Linked DNA regions of Homo sapiens: region 1 is linked to region 2. The links are contacts of gene promoters, found by promoter capture Hi-C in human tissues and cell types (Jung and others, 2019). All regions are on one chromosome and are shown on one strand. The core of a region is centred on a gene start or on the middle of the fragment in contact, and the rest is flanking DNA. Distances in the headings are between cores, read along the strand shown.

Region 1 (4,437 bases), core at 525-3,024, 140 kb after region 2:
AAAATGCCTCGTATCATGCCTGGCACAGATTAGTAGCTGTAATAACTGGGAATAATCCCAGTAGTAGCTGAAATTATTATGTGCAAAGGAGATATTTGAGAGGGAGGGGTTGTTCTTCTGTATTCATGTTTGAGAATGCATGTGTATGTGTGTACACATGTGTACCTATGCATACACCTCACCCGCTTTCACATTGCAACTTGTTCTCTTCGTATAAAAGATTAGGGTTCAAAGAGAAACTCTTTTCACTCTGAATTTCTGTGTCTGAGAGCAATGAATGACTGGGATGCAGAGGGCGGGAAATGCCATTAGCTGAGGCTGGGGCTATTTTTGTGTACCTTGATGCCAGTAAAGGAACAGATATTTGTATCTTTGGGGAATATGGGTGTGGATCTTTAGTATCGTGTTGGTGTGCAGGCATCCTCTACTACCTGCGCCTGTCAGAACCTGCCTGTGTGTGTGCAAACTGAGACTATAACTATTGGGAATCTATGGCTGCAGAAGTGTGTGTGATGTGTCTGCCTATAAATGCCTATCAATAGTTGTCTCACCATCTGTAAGGATGTAAGTACATATTTGAGGGTGCCTGAGTAGAGGACATAAGGTTATACATGGGTTTGGAGCTCTGTGAAAATCTGTGCCCTCTTGAGTATGGCTGTGTGTACAAATGGAAGAACAATTGTGTGTGGGGGGGTGTTTACATCTGTAAATGAGGGCAATTATGGAGGTGATGACATGTGTGATGTGGTGAGGGTAGGCTGTCATGGTGTCTGTAGGGCTGGATCTATGTCTGAGTGTGCTTATTTGTTTTTAGATGATGTATGTTTACATGTGTCTCTTTAGGCTCAGTTTGTGTGTGGAGAAGGGGGCTGAGACTCTAAGTGTCCACTTGTGTATGCTGCAGGGCGTTAGTGTGTGTAAGGCTCCATCTTTGGGTTTGAAGGTTCTGTGTCTGTGTGTCTGGGGGCAGTGTCTTCTGTCTAAATGCCTGGGCCTTCCTGCCTTCCCTACCATTCTCATTGTCAGTAGAACCCTAGAGAAGAAGGGATGGGCATTGGACTGTGTGGTTAAGCAAATCCTGAAGGGAAGGGGAATGTGCCAAGCAATCCCTTCCAAGAGAATTCAGGGAAACTACCCTCCCGTTTCACCTCAGTCCCTGGGAGCTGGTGCACTGTCTGGTTCTTATAGAGCAGAGGTATCTGTGCAGGTGTGTGAGAGTAAGTGTGGTGCCTCGTGCCCGTGTAAATGATGTGAACAGGTAATCACTTACATTAGTGTGTACACAAATGTACCAGGCATGGGATTGCATCAACACAGTGTAATAACGTGTGACCTCCTACGGAATCTATCTCCGCAGATGGTATGGCCATGGGTCCCTCCTGTACCTGTGAGTGGGGCAGTGTCTGAGGAAGATGGGTGCCCCTTGAGGGAGGAGCGGTAGTGAGAGCTGGGTGGATGTGTGCCCGCCGGTGCCTTTGTGTACTGGCGTGTCTCCGAGTCTCTCTGTCGGCAGCTCTGAGTTTCTGTGTGTCTCTGTGTCTGTGTGTGTGTCTCTCTCTCTGGGTCTCTGCCTCGTCGTGTGTGTCTTGCTCTCCCTTGGCGGGGAGGGGATTGGTCACGCATGACTCATCTTGAACCGAGCGGGGCTCCAGCGGCAGGGCGGCCGCCGTTGCAGCTGGAGGGGGAGGAGGACAAGGAGGAGGGAGAGGAGGAGGAGGACTACCAAGAGGGGGAGGAGGAGAAGAAGGAGGGGGCGGGGGCCTCTCCAAGTTTGTCGGGACCTTCTTCCGAGGCAGCGGCGGCAGCAGCCAGGGAGGCCGGGGCTGCGCGCGGGCCGGGGGCGGGGGCTGAGGCCGGGCCCGGGGCGGCGGGGCCGGCGCCTCGGCTCTCCTCCTGCTCCTGCAGCAGCCTCTGCTCCCACTGCGGCTGTGGTCCCCCTCGGCGCAGCTCTCCGCGCTGCGCGCCCGCTGAGCCCGAGGTTCCCCGGCCCATGTACTGGAAGCATGAGAACGCCGCCCCGGCGTTGCCCGAGGGCTGCCGGCTGCCGGCCGAGGGCGGCCCCGCCACCGACCAGGTGAGCCGGCGAACGACTGGGTGAGCGGCCCGGGCCGGGGTCGGGCAGGGTCCGGGACCCAGCCGGGCCGAGCAGGGTGGCGGGCGGTTGCAGGAAGGAGGGGTACGAGGGTGCGCCTGTGAGTGTGTGCTTGTGAGTGTGGGAGCGCGCGCGCGAGCGGGGGGGGGGGGTCGCGGAAAGCGGGAACACATTATGCAAATGTTGGAGGAATTTCTCAAAAAGCGATTTAGTAAAGACACAGGCGAATCAAGAGGAGGCGAGGCCGGTATTGTCCGTCTGAATAGGCGCTGATAGCGCCGATGCGCCGGGGGTTGTGCCGGCGCAGCGCTGAGAATCCCGACGCGGGGCCGGTACCCGGCGCGCCGAGGGGCTGGAGGGTGCTTTTTCCTCCCCTTGAGCGCCTCTCTTTTCTCTTTTTGGTCCCGTTTCGCCCCGATCTCGCTCTCTTTTTGCTCCGGGTTTCCCTCCGACTGGCCCTCGAAAGGCGCCTGAATCCGTGTCAATATAGCTGCTTCAATTTCGCCGCGCGTGTCAGGCGGGCGGGCGGGCGGGTGCTCACCGCGCTCGGGGTTTTCTTTTCTTCAACCACCCTCCGCCCCTCACCCATCTCTTTTTTATTTTCTTTCTTTCTCTCTTTTCTCCTTTTTGCATTTTGTGCCGAGAGGAGAAGGGAGCGAGGAAGGGGAGTGGGGTGGGGGGGCGGGTGGAGAGAGAAAAAATTCGATTTTTAATTACTACCATTAAAAAATCAAATTTGCAATTCTTTGGGCGGCCTGATGGATCTCACTGATTGACAGTTGGAATTGACACTCTGGCTACCTCTTATCTTGGGCATTCACGACAATTTCTAATTGCAGGTAGTTTGTGTGTGTGTGCGCGTGTTTTTCTTCCCCCCTCAGAGGCTTGGATTGCAAGGGAACTAAGCGATTACTTCAAGAGCCACGGGTTAAGTGCAGGGAGAGGGGGAGAGAGAGGGAAAAAATCCAATCCAAATTCAAATTGCTTCATTAGAGAGACACCGCTTTTGTGGGGAAGGGCTTTAAATGCCCACTACAAAGTTAGGACTCATTGTTCGGCGCCGGTTTATATAACAGGCGCGGGGAGGCGCTGGGCTCAGGCTGTGCGGAGCCAGTTCAGCAGCCGCCGCCGCCTGCGTTCCCTCCCCCCCTCCCCCAGGTGATGGCCCAGCCAGGGTCCGGCTGCAAAGCGACCACCCGCTGTCTTGAAGGGACCGCGCCGCCCGCCATGGTGAGTCCGTTTGGCCCTGCCTGCGGTGCCCAGTCCTCCAGCGGCCCGGCCCTGGGGACCTGGCCAGGTTTTCCGGCCACGAACTGCTGCTCACGCTCTGGGGGACTCCCGGCGGGCGCCGCCCCTCTCTGAGCCTCGGTTTTCCGGCAGGGAATGTTGGCTTTAACCGCTCCCAGCACCCAGAATGCGCGTGTTAAAAGTTGGGGCCGTCCCTTCCTCTCCAATAGGCCCTTCCATCCCTGTCCTTCAGTCTACGGCGCATTGTCCTGGGGAGATTTCGTTGTCAATTGGTGCTCGGGGGCCCCAGATTTGTCTCCAAGGCAGCCCCAACTCTGGGTGCCCGGATCAGCGCTCCTCTCCTTCTCTCCCCCGCCGCAGGCTCAGTCTGACGCCGAGGCCCTGGCAGGAGCTCTGGACAAGGACGAGGGTCAGGCCTCCCCATGTACGCCCAGCACGCCATCTGTCTGCTCACCGCCCTCTGCCGCCTCCTCCGTGCCGTCTGCAGGCAAGAACATCTGCTCCAGCTGCGGCCTCGAGATCCTGGACCGATATCTGCTCAAGGTGAGACAGGGGTAGGTGTTGCGTGCGTGTTGTCGGGGCGTGGGACGCAGCGCAGGAGACTGCAGGGAAGCACCGCAGGTCCTCTTACTTCCAAATCCTGGCTCCACTGCTGCCCGACTGCGAAGCTTTGGGCAAGACTTAGGGTCTGCCTGAGCCCCCGGGTTCCGTCTGAAAAATAAGAAGAGTTTATTTCCATTTCCCTGAGTCTCAGTATTACGGGAGAAAAATAGGGGAATCGCATGCACCTTCTGAGCTTCAGCGCCTCTGACTGTAAATGAGACCGGGAAGGCTGGGGCCCGGAGTGAAAGAGGCCCGCGCTGAGCCGACCTCCGTCCCCGCCCCGTCCCCAGGTCAACAACCTCATCTGGCACGTGCGGTGCCTCGAGTGCTCCGTGTGTCGCACGTCGCTGAGGCAGCAGAACAGCTGCTACATCAAGAACAAGGAGATCTTCTGCAAGATGGACTACTTCAGGTAGGCTGCGGCCGCCGAGCCAGCAGTGTCGCCGAGGGCAGGCCCCGGGCGCATTCGGAGGCCACTTTTGCGGCGTGTGGTC
Region 2 (4,673 bases), core at 732-3,231:
CCCTTCCCTGGGCTCCCTATACCCCTGCTTCCTCCCATGAGCTCCGCACAGCCCTGGTCCCCTTGGATGACAGTCTGTTGGCATTTCTGGCTCCACCATCAGCCTGTCAGCTCCTCCCAGCTCCGTGTCTCCAGGCCCCAGCCAAAGACTGGCATAAATAACCCTTGGGGATAAAAAAAAACAATTCCGTGTAAACATTTATTATACAAAAGGAAACAGAAAAGGCAAAAAACAAAATAGCACAGACCATGGCTCATTGTGCATTAGTGAATGGACTAAAAAAGAATACAGACGGGTGGGACCTGTATACCAAGAGTGCCTGGATGAGGCCAGATGGGGCCTCAGAGGAAGTGCTGGGCTGATCCAGGGACTGACAAGATGGGTCAGCGAGGCAACCTGAAGAGCCCCTTCTACTCCCCACCACCAGCTCACTGTGAGGATTCAGACAAGTGGCTTCACTCCCTCTGGGCCTCAGAGTCCCCTTCTGTAGACTGGGTCTAACGCATCTCTCTGGCAGGGCTGTTGAGAGCACCAAAGAGGTGGATGTCCACAACCAACCTTTGTAAACTTTAAAGTGCTGGCCACATGAGTCTTCCTCCTCCTCTTCCCATAAACCAGACTTTTATTCAACGCAATCCCTTTCCTAGAGCACCCTCCGTCCTCTCTTTGGGTCCCCTAAATGCCACCCACCCAAAGCCCGTTTCAGGAAACTTGGTCTGATCCAAAATCCATGTACATATCTTTCCTCTTTCCCCCACGCACCAGATCCTTAGAGCATCACAGCAGAAAGTGCGGACTCCCTCTGCTCCCTCCTGCCCTCTCTGGGCCTCATTTTAGAGATTTTACACAGCTAGGTGGTGGAGGAAACTATATCCAACTGGGACACATGCTCACACACACGCACACACACAAGCAGCGAGCTGGGGGAGGAAGGTTGGCTGAGCGAGGAGCTGAATTCCTTCACCTGGAACCTGGCACATGCATGGGGGAGGGAAGGGCGGAATTTCCCCATCAACCTCCCCCATGAAACCCAGAGTGGCTCCGGGTCCATTGTGGGTAGAAGCAGCTTTCTGTGGAAAGACCTTGCGAAGTGTGTGGACGCAGACAGACCTGAGTTCAGATCCTGGGCCCACCATGTATTTTGTGAGCTTGGGGAATCATGGCACCTACTGAGCCTCGGTTTCCTCATTTGCTCAATGGGGATCTCTTAAACCCCAGATGAAGCATCCCGGCTCCTAAATGTATTTCCATCTCCCATGTTCTCCCGAAGTCTTCACCAGGGGAGACCTTCTCCACTGGCAATGGGAATCAGGATGGGTTCCCAGACGGTTAGAGGCTGGAGAAAGGGAACTCATTTCCCTTGGTGCCTGCGGCTTCCTCCCAAAGAGGCCCCTATAGGAAACAGCGGGGTTGTTGGGTGCAGAGGCTGCTTAGACATCTGGGGCCCAGAACAGGTGAGGGGGATGGATAGGGACTGTCCCTTCTCCCCAAGTTGGCACCAGATCCCAGTCTGCTGTTTCCCCTGAAAGAACTAGATAGCCCATTAGCCAAGGCCACACCGCCGGGGGGGCTTCAGGGAGCCCCCATCCCACCAAAAGACTCAGCCTCAGTCTTTCTCAGCACCGCGAGCAGAAAGGGGAAGCTGGGCCCGCTGGAGGGGAAAGGAGGGGGTTGAAACCAGGCCAGGGGCGCAAGACCGGGGATTCCCTTGGGGAGGGATGGGGCCGCCTACCTGGCGTGGGCGCCCCTGGGTCCGCGAGCAGGACGGGGAGCGGCGGGAGCAGGAGCAGGAACAGCAAGAACCAGAGCAAGAGACTCCCTGCAGAGGAGAGAGATGAGGGGCTGAGCCTGGCATTCAAGGCTCCACCAGGAGGCCAAGAAAATTCCCCACCGGGCACCGGGGTCGCACTCACGGCTCATGGCGCGGCTGCTGGGGTGCGGGACGCAGAGTGCAGGCTCCTGTGCGTGCGCCTCGCACACTGCCCGGAGCTCCAGCCCATCCCCTCCCCACCCTTCCCCCGGCTCCACCCCCGCTCCTCCCTCCAGCTGTCACCTCGGCTGCCCGCTTACTTCCTCTGCCCAGCCCCGGCCAAGGCATTTTATTAATTAGTGTATGCTCGCCGCTAAAGCGGCTTTTCACCCAAGATCCTTGAAGCACTTACGTTTCTGATGCCTGGTGGCACTAGATATAGACAGGAAACTGAGGCTCAGAGACGATGCTCAATGCTGAGGTCACCCAGGGCTTAGGGACAGAACTGGGGATGGAAGCGGCTCGTCTGAACCACATACCCTGCCCCGCAGAGAAGAAAGGGTCTCAGAGTCCCCTTCTGTAAAATGGGTCTAACGCACTCTACAGAAAAGGGTAGAGAAGAAAAGGGGCTAGAAACAGGGCAGTCTGCAGAGAAGAAAGGGGGCTAGAAATGGGGCAGTCCAGCCTGGCCTGCTGATGGTTTCCTAGATGAGAAACTCACTACTCCTCAGACAGATCTAACAGGAAGGACTTACTTCCCCCATGGGCTGGGCTCCGCCCCCTGAAGCCACAGGTCTCTGCCAGAAATGAAAAGACCGGGCTCCAAACTCCAAGAGAGCCTAGTTCAAATCCAGACTCCACAGCTTACTGGCCGTGTCACCTTGGACAAGGTACTTATCTTTTCTAGCCCTCAGTATTCTCATCTATAAAATCGGCTTAATAGCAAAAACCATCCCAGAGGGTGGTTGTAAGATTCAATGAGGGAATGCACACAAATCTCCTGGTGCAGTGTCCAGCATGTAGTAGGTGCTCAGTTATCGGAAGGCATTTTTTCAAAGATCTCTGAACTCAGATTCCAGGGCTGGCCAGGGTCCATGCTGTAGCTAGACTCACATCCACCGCCGAATTTATAGAATCCCAGCATCCAGCTCTCCTTTTCGCCAGCTCAGGAAGCACCTAGAAGGAGGAAGGAATAGGTCCAAGATCACCCAAAGTCCCATGGTGCTGGCACCCACAAGTCATCTCCCTCAGTTTCCCCAGCACACCCAGCCATCCTGTGGGCCCCACAGTGGGGAAAGCCGGCAGGAGAGCTCAGAGGTTCTTGTGCTGGCTCCTGGGCATCACTGGGTGCAGGGTAGAAATTATGCCAGGTGGGAGAGGTGAAACCTGCTGGGAAGCCCCTCCCCCATTCTCACCCAAGCTGTTCCCATGCTCCCCTGGGACAAAAGCCAGCTGCCCTAGGGAGACAGAGCAAGCCAGGGCAGACCTGGAGAAGGAGTGGGGCATTGGAGGGCCCTGGGGCTCTCAGGGTGCCGGGACCGGCTTCAGCCTTCCCTTCCTCCCCAAATCAAGGGCCCCCTAGCATTTACAGGGCAAGGAGATGGGATTATCAGCAAAAGGGATGGGGACAGGGTGGAGGTGTGGGGGTCCAGTTGTCCAAAGAAAGGGGGAGTTTCTGGTGAGAAGAAAGGAGAGACGGGCTTGAATGAGGTTCCATCTTCCACTCCCAGGCCCTCCCTCCCTTTGGGCCCTGAGCCCATCAAGTCACCACACCTGTGCCTCCTGCTGACTTCCAAGCCACCCATCTGCACTCAAAACAAGAAACACTTGTGTGGCCCTGGCACTGATGGGAAGAGCCTTCACCTCAGAATCAGAAGTGAGTTCAAGTCACTTCTTCCATAGCGTGACCTTAAACAAGCCGCTAGGCCTCACTGGGCCTCTGTTTCCCCATTTGAACAACAGAATGAGCAGATCAGATGGTCTCTGAGGACTGGTCCAGTTCCAGCATGGAGCAATTGAGCCCTCACTGCAGCCAGGCTCTGTGACCAGCACCACAGATCTCAACACAGCTGCAATACAGGAGAGGATGGAGTCTGAGAGAGCAGGCAGGGTGCCGAGGCAGCCCTCCAGGGATGAGGCAGGACCAAGAGCATGGAGTGGGGAGAAGGTAGATGAGAGAAATGGTGGCAGAAGTGCCAGGGCTTGGTGACCGATTAGCACTAGAGCTTAGGGGAAGAAAGGTGCTGAGGACACCTAGCCTTCTGGCTCAATGCTGGTGGTAATATCCAGGGAAGGGGAGCTGGCATGGGTAGGTGGAATTTGAATTTGGGCTTCTTGTATTTGATCCACTTCAAGGAATGAGGAGGATCAAACCTTCCCTGCCTTCTCCAGCTTGGCCCATGGGCCAGCACCCCCAACCGCCCCAGCATGCAGCTGGATACACAGGGGAGAGGTCTGGGGTAGCCCTTGCCCCAGCCCTGGGAAAGAGACCACAGCACAGGGCCACCTTTTCCTGCTCCCTACTGCAAAGCTATAGTCTAAATGCCTAGGACTGGTGTCACCATCCTAGTCCTCAAGATTGTGAGCTTCCACTTATAGGGCAAGTCCACCTCCCATGTCCCCTGGTAGGCCTCCTCTAACATGCCTCCTCCTCCCCCTTCTCTCCTCTAGGAAGCCCCTGTGCCTTCCCTGGCCACAGCAGTGCCACTCCTGATCACATTGTCCCTCTGCCCCCAAACATTATGAGGCTATAAGAGTCCTGGTCACTCTTGTAGCCCCAAGGCCAAGCATAGGATCTGGCGGATAAAAGACATCCAGGGAATGTTTGTTGCTTGAACAAAGAAATGAATGAGTATCTAAAAGAGTAGTGAATGCATTAAAAAAACAGACCAGGTCCAGCACCAGCCTCATCGAAGTGACTGCC

Evidence for each region. The method cuts DNA at HindIII sites, captures the fragments that hold promoters and counts their contacts. A contact is called where the count stands out against the background at its distance.
Region 1: the fragment with the promoter of LHX6 here is called in contact with the fragment with the promoter of PTGS1 in region 2 in 1 of the 25 tissues and cell types used here (adrenal gland).

Annotation. Positions count from the first base shown.
Region 1 is chr9:122,226,294-122,230,730 of GRCh38, reverse strand. It overlaps LHX6 (LIM homeobox 6), which reads left to right and starts at 1,774. Exons shown (of 10, transcript NM_014368.5): 1 at 1,774-2,074; 2 at 3,251-3,322; 3 at 3,701-3,883; 4 at 4,234-4,355. The coding sequence starts at 1,991. RefSeq lists an enhancer at 3,542-4,047. The HindIII fragment of the contact is 8,045 bases long and covers 1-4,437 here.
Region 2 is chr9:122,368,332-122,373,004 of GRCh38, reverse strand. It overlaps PTGS1 (prostaglandin-endoperoxide synthase 1), which reads right to left and starts at 1,981. Exons shown (of 11, transcript NM_000962.4): 1 at 1,914-1,981; 2 at 1,733-1,819. The coding sequence starts at 1,920. The HindIII fragment of the contact is 15,948 bases long and covers 1-4,673 here.